3 separate regions of the Homo sapiens genome follow, and all the other regions are linked to region 1. The links are contacts of gene promoters, found by promoter capture Hi-C in human tissues and cell types (Jung and others, 2019). All regions are on one chromosome and are shown on one strand. Each heading gives the region's core, a stretch centred on a gene start or on the middle of the fragment in contact. The rest is flanking DNA. Distances are from core to core; before and after follow the strand shown. Region 1 holds the start of PDCD1 (programmed cell death 1). Region 2 overlaps SEPTIN2 (septin 2). Region 3 overlaps HDLBP (high density lipoprotein binding protein).

Region 1 (3,495 bases), core at 650-3,149:
CTTCAGTGGGACTGAGAGGAGGAGGGAAGGAGAGTGGGTGACAGGGAAGAACTGCAGGGAGAGAGGAGAGGGGTGGGAGAAGGAGAAGGAAGGAAGGGGTAGGATGGAAGCTGGGTTTCTCCCTGTGCCCGCCCCCTACTCCAGGACATGTGTCCAAGCCCTGGCAGGTGGAATTTTGGGGGCAGGGCCTTGGTGGTGAGGAGACCTTCCAGGGGTCTGATAGCATCTCCCATCTCAGAGCCCACCTCCTGGGCCCAGCCTCCCCTCCAGCCCACACAGTGGCATTCCCAGTCCTCAGAGGACAGCTTCGTCCCACAAAGCTCAGAGCCTTGAGGAAGGCCCACTGCTGCCCTGGAACAGAGACAGCATTCAACAGAGGTTGGAACAAGGCTCTACAGGGCTGGGGGCAGAGGGAGGTTCTGTCCAGAATCTGCCTTCAGGACAAGTACAGCCAGCAGGGGCAGCTTAGCCACTTATCCACTGCCTGGGCGAGGCACAGGGCTATGGAGGCACCTACCAACCAACAGTTCTCCAGCCCCAGAGCCCCAGCCCCTGAGGCACAAGGGTGGGTGTGCCAGGAGACAGTTGCTGCGGGCCACCTTAGCTGTCTGGCAGCACAGTGGGTGCTGCCAGGCTCCCTGGGGGCCCCCCGCCAAGCCCACCTGGCCAGCTGGGCCCCCCCCACCTCCCCACCAAGCCACCCACACAGCCTCACATCTCTGAGACCCGGGAGTGGCCCTTTGTTCATAAACGAGAGCTTCCTCGCCGTGGCCGCGCCTCGCAGACATCATCTTTGATGCTCTTTTTCCACTGTTTCGGTGCTTTAATGTTTTCCCTTCAGAGCCGGGCCGAGTGTCTCTCGGAGCCAGGCAGCCGCGCCAGCTGTCAGGCGGTTTCTAGCCTCGCTTCGGTTATTTTAAGCTGATGAGCCTGACGCATCTCATCACTAATATCAGCAGTTTCATTTCTCCTGTTTTCCATTCGCTGTAATAAAATGCTCAGCACAGAATACAAGGAGATAAGCAAGCCATTTCACAAACGCCGGGCCGCCAGCCAGGCCCAGGCACTGGACCCCCTGAACCACCCCACCCTGGCACGAGTGGGCTGGAGGGCAGGGCCCCGGGGAAGAAGGTCAAGGCTGGAAGGGGAGGTCAGCCTCACAGCCAGCCCCTGCCACCGCCCCAGCCCCCCCGTCAGGCTGTTGCAGGCATCACACGGTGGAAAGATCTGGAACTGTGGCCATGGTGTGAGGCCATCCACAAGGTGGAAGCTTTGAGGGGGAGCCGATTAGCCATGGACAGTTGTCATTCAGTAGGGTCACCTGTGCCCCAGCGAAGGGGGATGGGCCGGGAAGGCAGAGGCCAGGCACCTGCCCCCAGCAGGGGCAGAGGCTGTGGGCAGCCGGGAGGCTCCCAGAGGCTCCGACAGAATGGGAGTGGGGTTGAGCCCACCCCTCACTGCAGCCCAGGAACCTGAGCCCAGAGGGGGCCACCCACCTTCCCCAGGCAGGGAGGCCCGGCCCCCAGGGAGATGGGGGGGATGGGGGAGGAGAAGGGCCTGCCCCCACCCGGCAGCCTCAGGAGGGGCAGCTCGGGCGGGATATGGAAAGAGGCCACAGCAGTGAGCAGAGACACAGAGGAGGAAGGGGCCCTGAGCTGGGGAGACCCCCACGGGGTAGGGCGTGGGGGCCACGGGCCCACCTCCTCCCCATCTCCTCTGTCTCCCTGTCTCTGTCTCTCTCTCCCTCCCCCACCCTCTCCCCAGTCCTACCCCCTCCTCACCCCTCCTCCCCCAGCACTGCCTCTGTCACTCTCGCCCACGTGGATGTGGAGGAAGAGGGGGCGGGAGCAAGGGGCGGGCACCCTCCCTTCAACCTGACCTGGGACAGTTTCCCTTCCGCTCACCTCCGCCTGAGCAGTGGAGAAGGCGGCACTCTGGTGGGGCTGCTCCAGGCATGCAGATCCCACAGGCGCCCTGGCCAGTCGTCTGGGCGGTGCTACAACTGGGCTGGCGGCCAGGATGGTTCTTAGGTAGGTGGGGTCGGCGGTCAGGTGTCCCAGAGCCAGGGGTCTGGAGGGACCTTCCACCCTCAGTCCCTGGCAGGTCGGGGGGTGCTGAGGCGGGCCTGGCCCTGGCAGCCCAGGGGTCCCGGAGCGAGGGGTCTGGAGGGACCTTTCACTCTCAGTCCCTGGCAGGTCGGGGGGTGCTGTGGCAGGCCCAGCCTTGGCCCCCAGCTCTGCCCCTTACCCTGAGCTGTGTGGCTTTGGGCAGCTCGAACTCCTGGGTTCCTCTCTGGGCCCCAACTCCTCCCCTGGCCCAAGTCCCCTCTTTGCTCCTGGGCAGGCAGGACCTCTGTCCCCTCTCAGCCGGTCCTTGGGGCTGCGTGTTTCTGTAGAATGACGGGTCAGGCTGGCCAGAACCCCAAACCTTGGCCGTGGGGAGTCTGCGTGGCGGCTCTGCCTTGCCCAGGCATCCTTGGTCCTCACTCGAGTTTTCCTAAGGATGGGATGAGCCCCATGTGGGACTAACCTTGGCTTTACGACGTCAAAGTTTAGATGAGCTGGTGATATTTTTCTCATTATATCCAAAGTGTACCTGTTCGAGTGAGGACAGTTCTTCTGTCTCCAGGATCCCTCCTGGGTGGGGATTGTGCCCGCCTGGGTCTCTGCCCAGATTCCAGGGCTCTCCCCGAGCCCTGTTCAGACCATCCGTGGGGGAGGCCTTGGCCTCACTCTCCCGGATCGAGGAGAGAGGGAGCCTCTTCCTGGGCTGCCCGTGACCCTGGGCCCTCTGTGTACACTGTGACCACAGCCCGCTCCTGGACCCTCTGTGCCCGGCTGGCCCTCTGTGCCCAGCCAGCCTGCACCTGGGGATGCCAAGGCCTGGGGAGGGTGGTTTCACCCAGGCCAAGCCTAAGACAGTCCCTCTGGGCCCTGCTGGGTACCGGGGTGTGACACCACTGGGAGGACAAGATGAGGGGCACCCCTGGGGCCGCCCTGACACCCCCTCGAGGCTCCTGCCCCGGGGGTCCTGGTGCCCCTTCACTGTGGCAGGCGACTGGGGGTTCCCCACCTCGGCCCCTCTCCCGGGGCCTGCTCCCCGGCACCTGAGGCAGCATCCTTGTCAGGGCCGTGCCTTCCTGCCTCAGCGCCACCTCTTAAGGTTGGCCCGTGGGTCACTCAGGACTCAGAACTGGAGATTCTGGGCAAAAGGCAAAGAGCAAAGGGCCAAAAGGCATCCCAGGGAGACGACTGCGGGGGAACCAGAGGGCAGAGGGGCGCTCGTCACAGGGGAGGGGGAGCTGAGCGAGGCAGGAGGGGAGCCGAGCCTCTCCCCCCGTGTCCCGGCTCTTCAGGCACGCCCTCGGGACGCCACCCTCCCCGACCCAGGCGGGAAAGATAAGAGCAAGGTGTCCGCAGCCTGACACTCGTGCCTCAGGTGCCCGCGCTTGTGCCGGACAAGACTCTCACAGGTGGCATGCCTCGGTTTCCCCAC
Region 2 (3,206 bases), core at 635-3,134, 530 kb after region 1:
CCTGGCCTGGAGGATATTTCTGAAACGGGTCACTTACACAGCCATTGGCAGGCCTTGGTTCCTTACTTGGTGGGCTTCCCTGTAAGGCTGCTTGAGTGTTCTCTTGACATGACAGCTGGCTTCCTCCAGAGTGAGTAATTTGAGAAGAGGCAAGGTGGGGGGCCATAATGCCTTTTATGACCTAGTCTTAGAAAATGACAACACTTTCATCTCCACAATGTCCTACTGGCTACACAGGTAAAACCCTATTCAATGCAGGAAGGGCTGGCTTCCTCCAGAGTGAGTAATTTGAGAAGAGGCAAGGTGGGGGGCCATAATGCCTTTTATGACCTAGTCTTAGAAAATGACAACACTTTCATCTCCACAATGTCCTACTGGCTACACAGGTAAAACCCTATTCAATGCAGGAAGGGACAAGAAAGTTGTGAATACCAGGAGATAAGAATCACTGGGGGCCATTTTGGAGCCTAGCTGACACAATGAGTAAACTTTCACTACATATAAATAAGAAAGTGACAGAAAAATAATTTTGCTCCTGAGAAAAATTTTCTAATGAATACACATATATTTGTTCAAATTCTCAAGTTATTTGACTCTGCCAAATTTTCCTCTTTCTTTATAGGTCACGTTATCATACTCCAGAGATTGGAAAGGGGAGATATTTATTTAGTAAGTTGGAGACTATAGATTAATTTCTTACCGACCACCATCAGTGTGAACTCAAAACCTTTTTTCACTGATTTTCGGTGAACTTGATTGGGGAGGTTTGCAAATCCAACATAGCCAGGTGTTTCTGGATTTATAAACTGAGTTGGCTGTTGCTAAATAAGATTAAAAAACAAACAAACTAATAAACACCTTAGTAGTTGCTTTTAAGATATAATCAGTTAGACATGAAACAAACATAGGTTATCAGTTTTCACAAATTTTTTAAAAAGTATAAACACTTCCAGAAGGTCATACTTCTATCAGAAAACCAGTAGTATTCAACTAGGAGCATTAAAAAAAGAAAAACTTATCTAGTATAACTCCTTAGTTGTATGCGACTGAAAATTAACATTTTGTTAATCAGTATTCTGTTTAGGAATTTAACAATACATAGAAGATACATGCTTAATACATCTTAATGCAATTTCAAATTTCGACTTGAGAGACTATGGAGTTCCAGGAAAATCAGTCAAGCTTACAAAGTACTGCTACAGCTGACAGTACTTTGAATGAATGGTTTCATTCAACAAACTTGGCTAAAGAATAGCTTCTCCCAGGTATTAGGTGCAATGCATTTCTGAAAAGTATCGAGGAAAAAAGCATCTCTCTTGCTGTGCTTCTAGCTCTATAGAACAGAGTTTCATCAAGGGTGAGGCAGGCAAATTAGGGGTGGGATGTTGAGTATCTAGTGTCAAAGACCAAGAAAGAAAAGACAGAATGAGAAGATCATAGATGACTACACTGAAGCATCAATATTCCTTGACAGAAGGGTATCTGATGAGAGAGAGGACAGAGATATGAGAAGGCAAGAATAGCAGAAGTAACCAGAATCTAGACAGTGGCATACTGAAAATGAGAAGAAATTTTAAAAATCAATTTATTAATTGAAAAAGGCAAGATACAAAATAGTATTTCCTTTAGGATTACATTTTGTAAATGTATAGTCAAATGCACACACAGGTGAAAAAGAATATATGTAACATATTAACAGTGGTTATTCCTGAGTGGTGAAATAATGACTTTTTTTTTTGCTTATCTGTGTTCCATGCTAACACTGGTATAAAATGCAAAAACTGGTATGATGATTTTGCATTGGACAGTAATGAACACCCACAGGATTCAAAGATAAAAAAAAAACAGAAATAATAATCTTGCAATGTTAACCACAAGTTCTGCTTTTCTCAGAATATGTTCTTTAGCACTAATTTATCTCTGAACTAACTTGCAAAGGCTGATTTAAACCAATTTATCAAGTCTAAGAGCCCCATCAATTTCATCATAATAAATTATCAGAATTCTAAATTATCTGGTCTGCTGGGAATGAACTAAGGGGGCCAAAAGGACTGTTACTGATGTGTGTAGAGAAAAGAAAGTAGAAGCCTGAAAAAAGAGAAAGCTCCAAGCTTTTAAGATGACAATTAGGCCAGGCACGGTGGCTCACACCTGTAATCCCAACACTTCGGGGGGCCAAAGCGGGTGGATCACGAGGTCAACAGATCAAGGCCATCCTGGCCAACACGGTGAAACCCCGAATTTACTAAAATCCAAAAAATTAGCCAGCGTGGTGGCACGTGTCTGCAGTCCCAGCTACTCCGGAGGCTGAGCCAGGGGAATCGCTTGAACGTGGGAGGCAGAAGTTGCAGTGAGCTGAGATCATGCCACTGCACTCCAGCCTGGTGACAGAACAAGACTCCCGTCTCAAAAAAAAAAAAAAAAAGACAACTAAATTAGAACTCTTTGTGTTAATGAATCAAATGTATCAGTTGTATTAAAAATAATGAATCATATAAGTCCCGACTGTCAACAGTCTGAAAACATAAAGCAATTTCTCCTTATGCTGTAGATACATGAAGTATGATCTTACCTTAGACATCTTTTGTGAAGCTTCGTCTGTTAAAAAAAAAACACACAGACACACATAAACGCACATACATAGTATGTATGTATACGCACGTATATTTAACAGCGTGAACTGACCTGAAGAAGACTTACACATACATAGGCAATGTAAAAAGAAAATACAATTTCAGGACCTTCCAAATGCATTAGGCCAAAGGGAAAAGTTAAGCACTGACAGCTGGCTCGTGTAACATCACTACTTTTATTCTTTCTGACTTTTGTGTTTAGATGTATATATTAACCAGACCCCCTATTCTTTATTCAAAACTAGACTAAATGACTGGGAGATGAGAGATCCTTATGACTGTTACTTCTTTACAAAAGGAAGTTAAACAAATCCCTTCAAGTGTAATCAATAGTAGCCAATCAAATTTGTATCTTTAAATGAGCCTTAGTTCCGAAAATGTTATAATTCTGTTTGGCACCTCCATTTTGCCTATATAAACAATCCTCATTTTTCCCCACCCTGGGAGCGCTAATCACCATTCTTTGGTGTAGCTCGCTTACACTCTGTACTTAAATGAATTCTTTTAACTGAATCAGGAGCCTTTTGATTATTTTAGGTGACAGCATCTCAATTACTTCAAATATTTCCCTAG
Region 3 (3,594 bases), core at 1,035-3,534, 550 kb after region 1:
AGCTCACTGCAGCTGCAATCTCCTGGGCTTGAGTGATGCTCCTGCCTCGGCCTCCCAAGTACCTGGGACTACAGGCATGCACCGCCACACCTGGATAATTTTAAAAACTTTTTGTAGACATGAGCTCTCTATGTTGCCCAGGCTGATCTTGAACTCCTGGCCTCAAGTGATTCTCCTGCCTCAGACTCCCGAAGTGCTGGGAGTGAAGGCTTTGCATCTGGCCTCAGAGGCTTTTCTTTCTGTGAAATTCAGAACTCCCAGAACAGTGATGTCCCTTGGAGACTGTTTTCATCCATCGTCTTGCCTACTCTTTGGTCCTGTTTATTTGCAACTCATGTTCTTCAACGCTGGGCATTTTTTTGATTTATTGCTTTGATTTCTTCCTATTTGCTTTCTCTCTCTCTCTCTAGAATTCTACTCTTGGACTTTCTGGATTGGCACTCATAATTTTCTTAAGGTTTCTTTTTCCCCCCTCTAAAATTTTTGTTTTTGTTTTTATCTTTTAAATTGTAAATTGACAAATTATACTTGTACATATTTAGGGGGTACAAAGTGATGTTACGATTTATGGATACAATAAATAATAAAATCAAGTTAACATAATTCATCACTTCAAATACTTTAAGTTTTTTGTGGTGAAAGCATATGAGATTACTGTCAGCACTTTTGAAATCGACATTATTATTTACTATATTCACCGTGCTGTACAATATATCTCATAAAAGAAAACCACATTCCTCCTGTCTAATTGATGTTTTGTACCCTTTGGTTTTTCATTTTCTTTCTGGAAGTTATTCTCAAGTTTGTCTTCCAGCCCTTCTACCAAGGTTTTTCTCATTTCTAAGAGCTTTTTCTTGTTCCCTCTATTCCTATTTTATAACCTATTTTTTGTTTCATGAATGTGGTATCTCCTGTTAACTGTTGGAAGATATTGATGAGGTTTTATTTTTCCCTGTTTTCTTTTTCCTTAAGTCACTATTGAGGCTGCTCTGGTTTGTTGTGGGTTTTTGGCTTTTGTCAGCCTTTTCTGGGCTATGCAGTGATGTTCTTGTGCCTGCTCGTGAGTCAGAGGGCCTCTGAGCCTGTGTCTGTGGCTGACTGTGGCTTTCACTGCAGAGGCACCTGGCTGGGCCATTTCCTTACAGCACCCTTGTCAGCTTCTTTGGGTTTCTTCAGATTCCCCAGAGAAATATCTTGTAGCCCTTTGCCTGGCTGAGTGGCCAAGTGAGGAGAGAGGCCTGGGAGCACAGCAGTAACCATAAAAGAGCTTACTTCCCTCTTTTCAGAATTGTTTCCCTCCTCTGTAACTGGTGTCCCCAGTCCAAAGATTCTACTTCCCTTTGCAGACAGAAAAGCGATACCTTTTTGCCAGGATAGGAGAGGGACTGTGCAGGTTGGCTCTGTGTGGCTGTGCAGAGTTGTGGGGTGCATCTTAGGGATCTTCGTGCCTTTTAAACCTATCAGCCAACTCTGTTTTTAATTCAGGTCTCCTGGCTTCCAGTCATATTGCCAGTTGGCCTTCCCCATTGCCGATACAGGATTCAGCCCTTTTAGGTCTGTTTCCAGTTTCTAGCCTCCAGTATTTTAATGTTCTTATCTCTATTCTTATTCTTTGCTTTCGTGATTTGTATCTTAAAAAAAGAAAAAATCGTTTACTATCATTTTAGTGGTGCTTCACGAAGTAGTGTAAATGTATTGATCTGACAACGGCTCGTGCTGGAGACACTGTTCCAGGAAGTGGGACACAGTAAGGAAAATGCAAGTGTGTTCTCCTGCACTTTCACGGAGGTCACGTTTTGGTAAGCGGTGTCAGGCAGTCAGCAGACCAGCAGATATGCAGTATGTCCAATGTGGACAAGAAGAAAGGAGGAAAATAAAGTATCGAGGGGAGTGGAGTGGGGGACACAGTGGCAGTTTGGCATAGTGGGGAGGCCTTGCTGATTGAGCGACAGTTGATTCAAACTTGAGATGAGCAAACAAGCCATGGGCAGCGATCTGGGGAAGAGCGTTATAAGAGGAATGGACAGGAGGTGAAAAGCACGGGGGCAGGACTGTGTTGTGCACGTTAGAGGAATGTGGAACACCAGTTATTAGACCAGTGTGGAGCAGGACCAGAGGGTGTAGGAGACGGGCAGGTCAGGGAAGAAGCCGGGGCTCCTAGCAGTCGGATCTTGATGCCTTTGGAGAGCTGGAGCAGAGTGACCCAGTACTGGTGGTGGATCGTGGTGAAGTGACCATGGGCCACACCATTCACGACATTTCTTACTTTTCCTGTCACCTGTAGGAGGCAAGTATTGTTGTTATCACAGGTCGAGGTAGACCCTGAGGCAAAGGCTAGAGTTAGTGGTTTGGCTCCAGTTTGTGCCTTCAGCTACTTCACTGCTTCCCTAACCTGGCCTTGTCAGTCAGCCTCAGTCTACCATCTACCCAGGTCTGCATACCCCGCAAAACAGTATACACTTTGACGCTTTTCTGCAAGCACAATTACCTTTTGGGGGAGCCCTTCTCTTAAAGCAGAGTAGGTTAATGTTTGTGAATGAAACGGAACTTTGGCAGGCTGAGGTGTCTCAGGTCATCAGCTTACGTTGTCTACTGTGTGACTAATTGAGGCAAAAGATGTCCTTTTTAATAGTATTTTCTCATCACTTTTGCCTGGGTGCCCTTTAGGAATGTTATTTTTGGCATACAACTTGAGTTTCACTTAAATTTATAATTCTTTCTGTTCATTCCTACTGCTCTGTTGCCCAGATGTGGATTTTGCTTTGTCTCACAAGCGTTGCTGAAACACTGGTAGAAAGGTGGACGACGGATTGGTTGTGATTAGTTTGATCTTCACAGTACAGAAATTCAAAAGGTCAATAAGCTCAACAAGATTGCTGTCTCACTGATGATCAGAGTTGCCATTAAAATCGTATTTCCCGCACATCAGGCTGGAAAAAAGAATAAACATGATCATTTTAGTTGTCCTCAAAGGAGAAGAGGACAGGTATTCTGTAATCAGGTGTTGTGAGTGTAACTAGTTAAACTCTTTGGGAGGTGGGCAGTTTTACCTTGGCAATATCTATCAATGCATTGCCTGTCATCATATAATTCCATTTCCAATTCAATTTATCCTGTGGGGGTAGAGGCCCAAGTGAGCAGAGGATGTTCTTTCCAGCATTGTTTATAATCGCAAAAAAAAAAAAAAATTAGTTCAAGGGTCCTATCAGTAGGGGATTTATTAAGGTATGTTTACTCCACTCAACATGTAGTTGTTAACAAATGAGGTAAATTTGTATTTGGTACTCGGAAAGATGGCCATGGTGTCTTTTCAAATGAAAATAAGTGTAGCAGATGGTGAAAGAATGCATGTAAGATCCTATTTTTATTTAAATCATGTATTAAAATTATAATTAAAGTATAATTAAAATTACAGTTTTGAAGATACAGTTTAGAATATATTTTTTGGTAAAGCCTCATGGGGGGGTTGCCAGTTTTTACATTGTTTTGTTGAGTTATCTTTTAGAATATTTTTAAAGCTAAAAAATCAAGTTCCTTGGTAGACCATCACTACAGCAAGCCCACTGCAGTATTAATCTATTAATACTGTCAATG

What was found. Contacts are between HindIII fragments. The study calls those that stand out against the background at their distance.
Region 2: a fragment that was not itself captured here is called in contact with the fragment with the promoter of PDCD1 in region 1 in 1 of the 25 tissues and cell types used here (lymphoblastoid cells).
Region 3: a contact is called between a fragment that was not itself captured here and the fragment with the promoter of PDCD1 in region 1, in 1 of the 25 tissues and cell types used here (lymphoblastoid cells).

The regions. Positions count from the first base shown.
Region 1 is chr2:241,857,298-241,860,792 of GRCh38, reverse strand. It overlaps PDCD1 (programmed cell death 1), which reads left to right and starts at 1,899. Exons shown (of 5, transcript NM_005018.3): 1 at 1,899-2,030. The coding sequence starts at 1,955. It overlaps LOC124908032 (a long non-coding RNA gene), which reads right to left and starts at 1,721. Exons shown (of 2, transcript XR_007088436.1): 1 at 716-1,721. RefSeq lists an enhancer at 1,731-2,693. The HindIII fragment of the contact is 28,999 bases long and covers 1-3,495 here.
Region 2 is chr2:241,323,608-241,326,813 of GRCh38, reverse strand. It overlaps SEPTIN2 (septin 2), which reads right to left. Exons shown (of 13, transcript NM_004404.5): 2 at 2,573-2,598; 3 at 701-821. The coding sequence starts at 2,581. Among named protein-coding and RNA genes, the nearest start is that of SEPTIN2, 9.3 kb to the right of the region's middle. The HindIII fragment of the contact is 3,359 bases long and covers 205-3,206 here.
Region 3 is chr2:241,307,469-241,311,062 of GRCh38, reverse strand. All of the region lies in intron 1 of HDLBP (high density lipoprotein binding protein), which reads left to right. Among named protein-coding and RNA genes, the nearest start is that of HDLBP, 6.4 kb to the left of the region's middle. RefSeq lists an enhancer at 1,158-1,659. The HindIII fragment of the contact is 9,441 bases long and covers 1-3,594 here.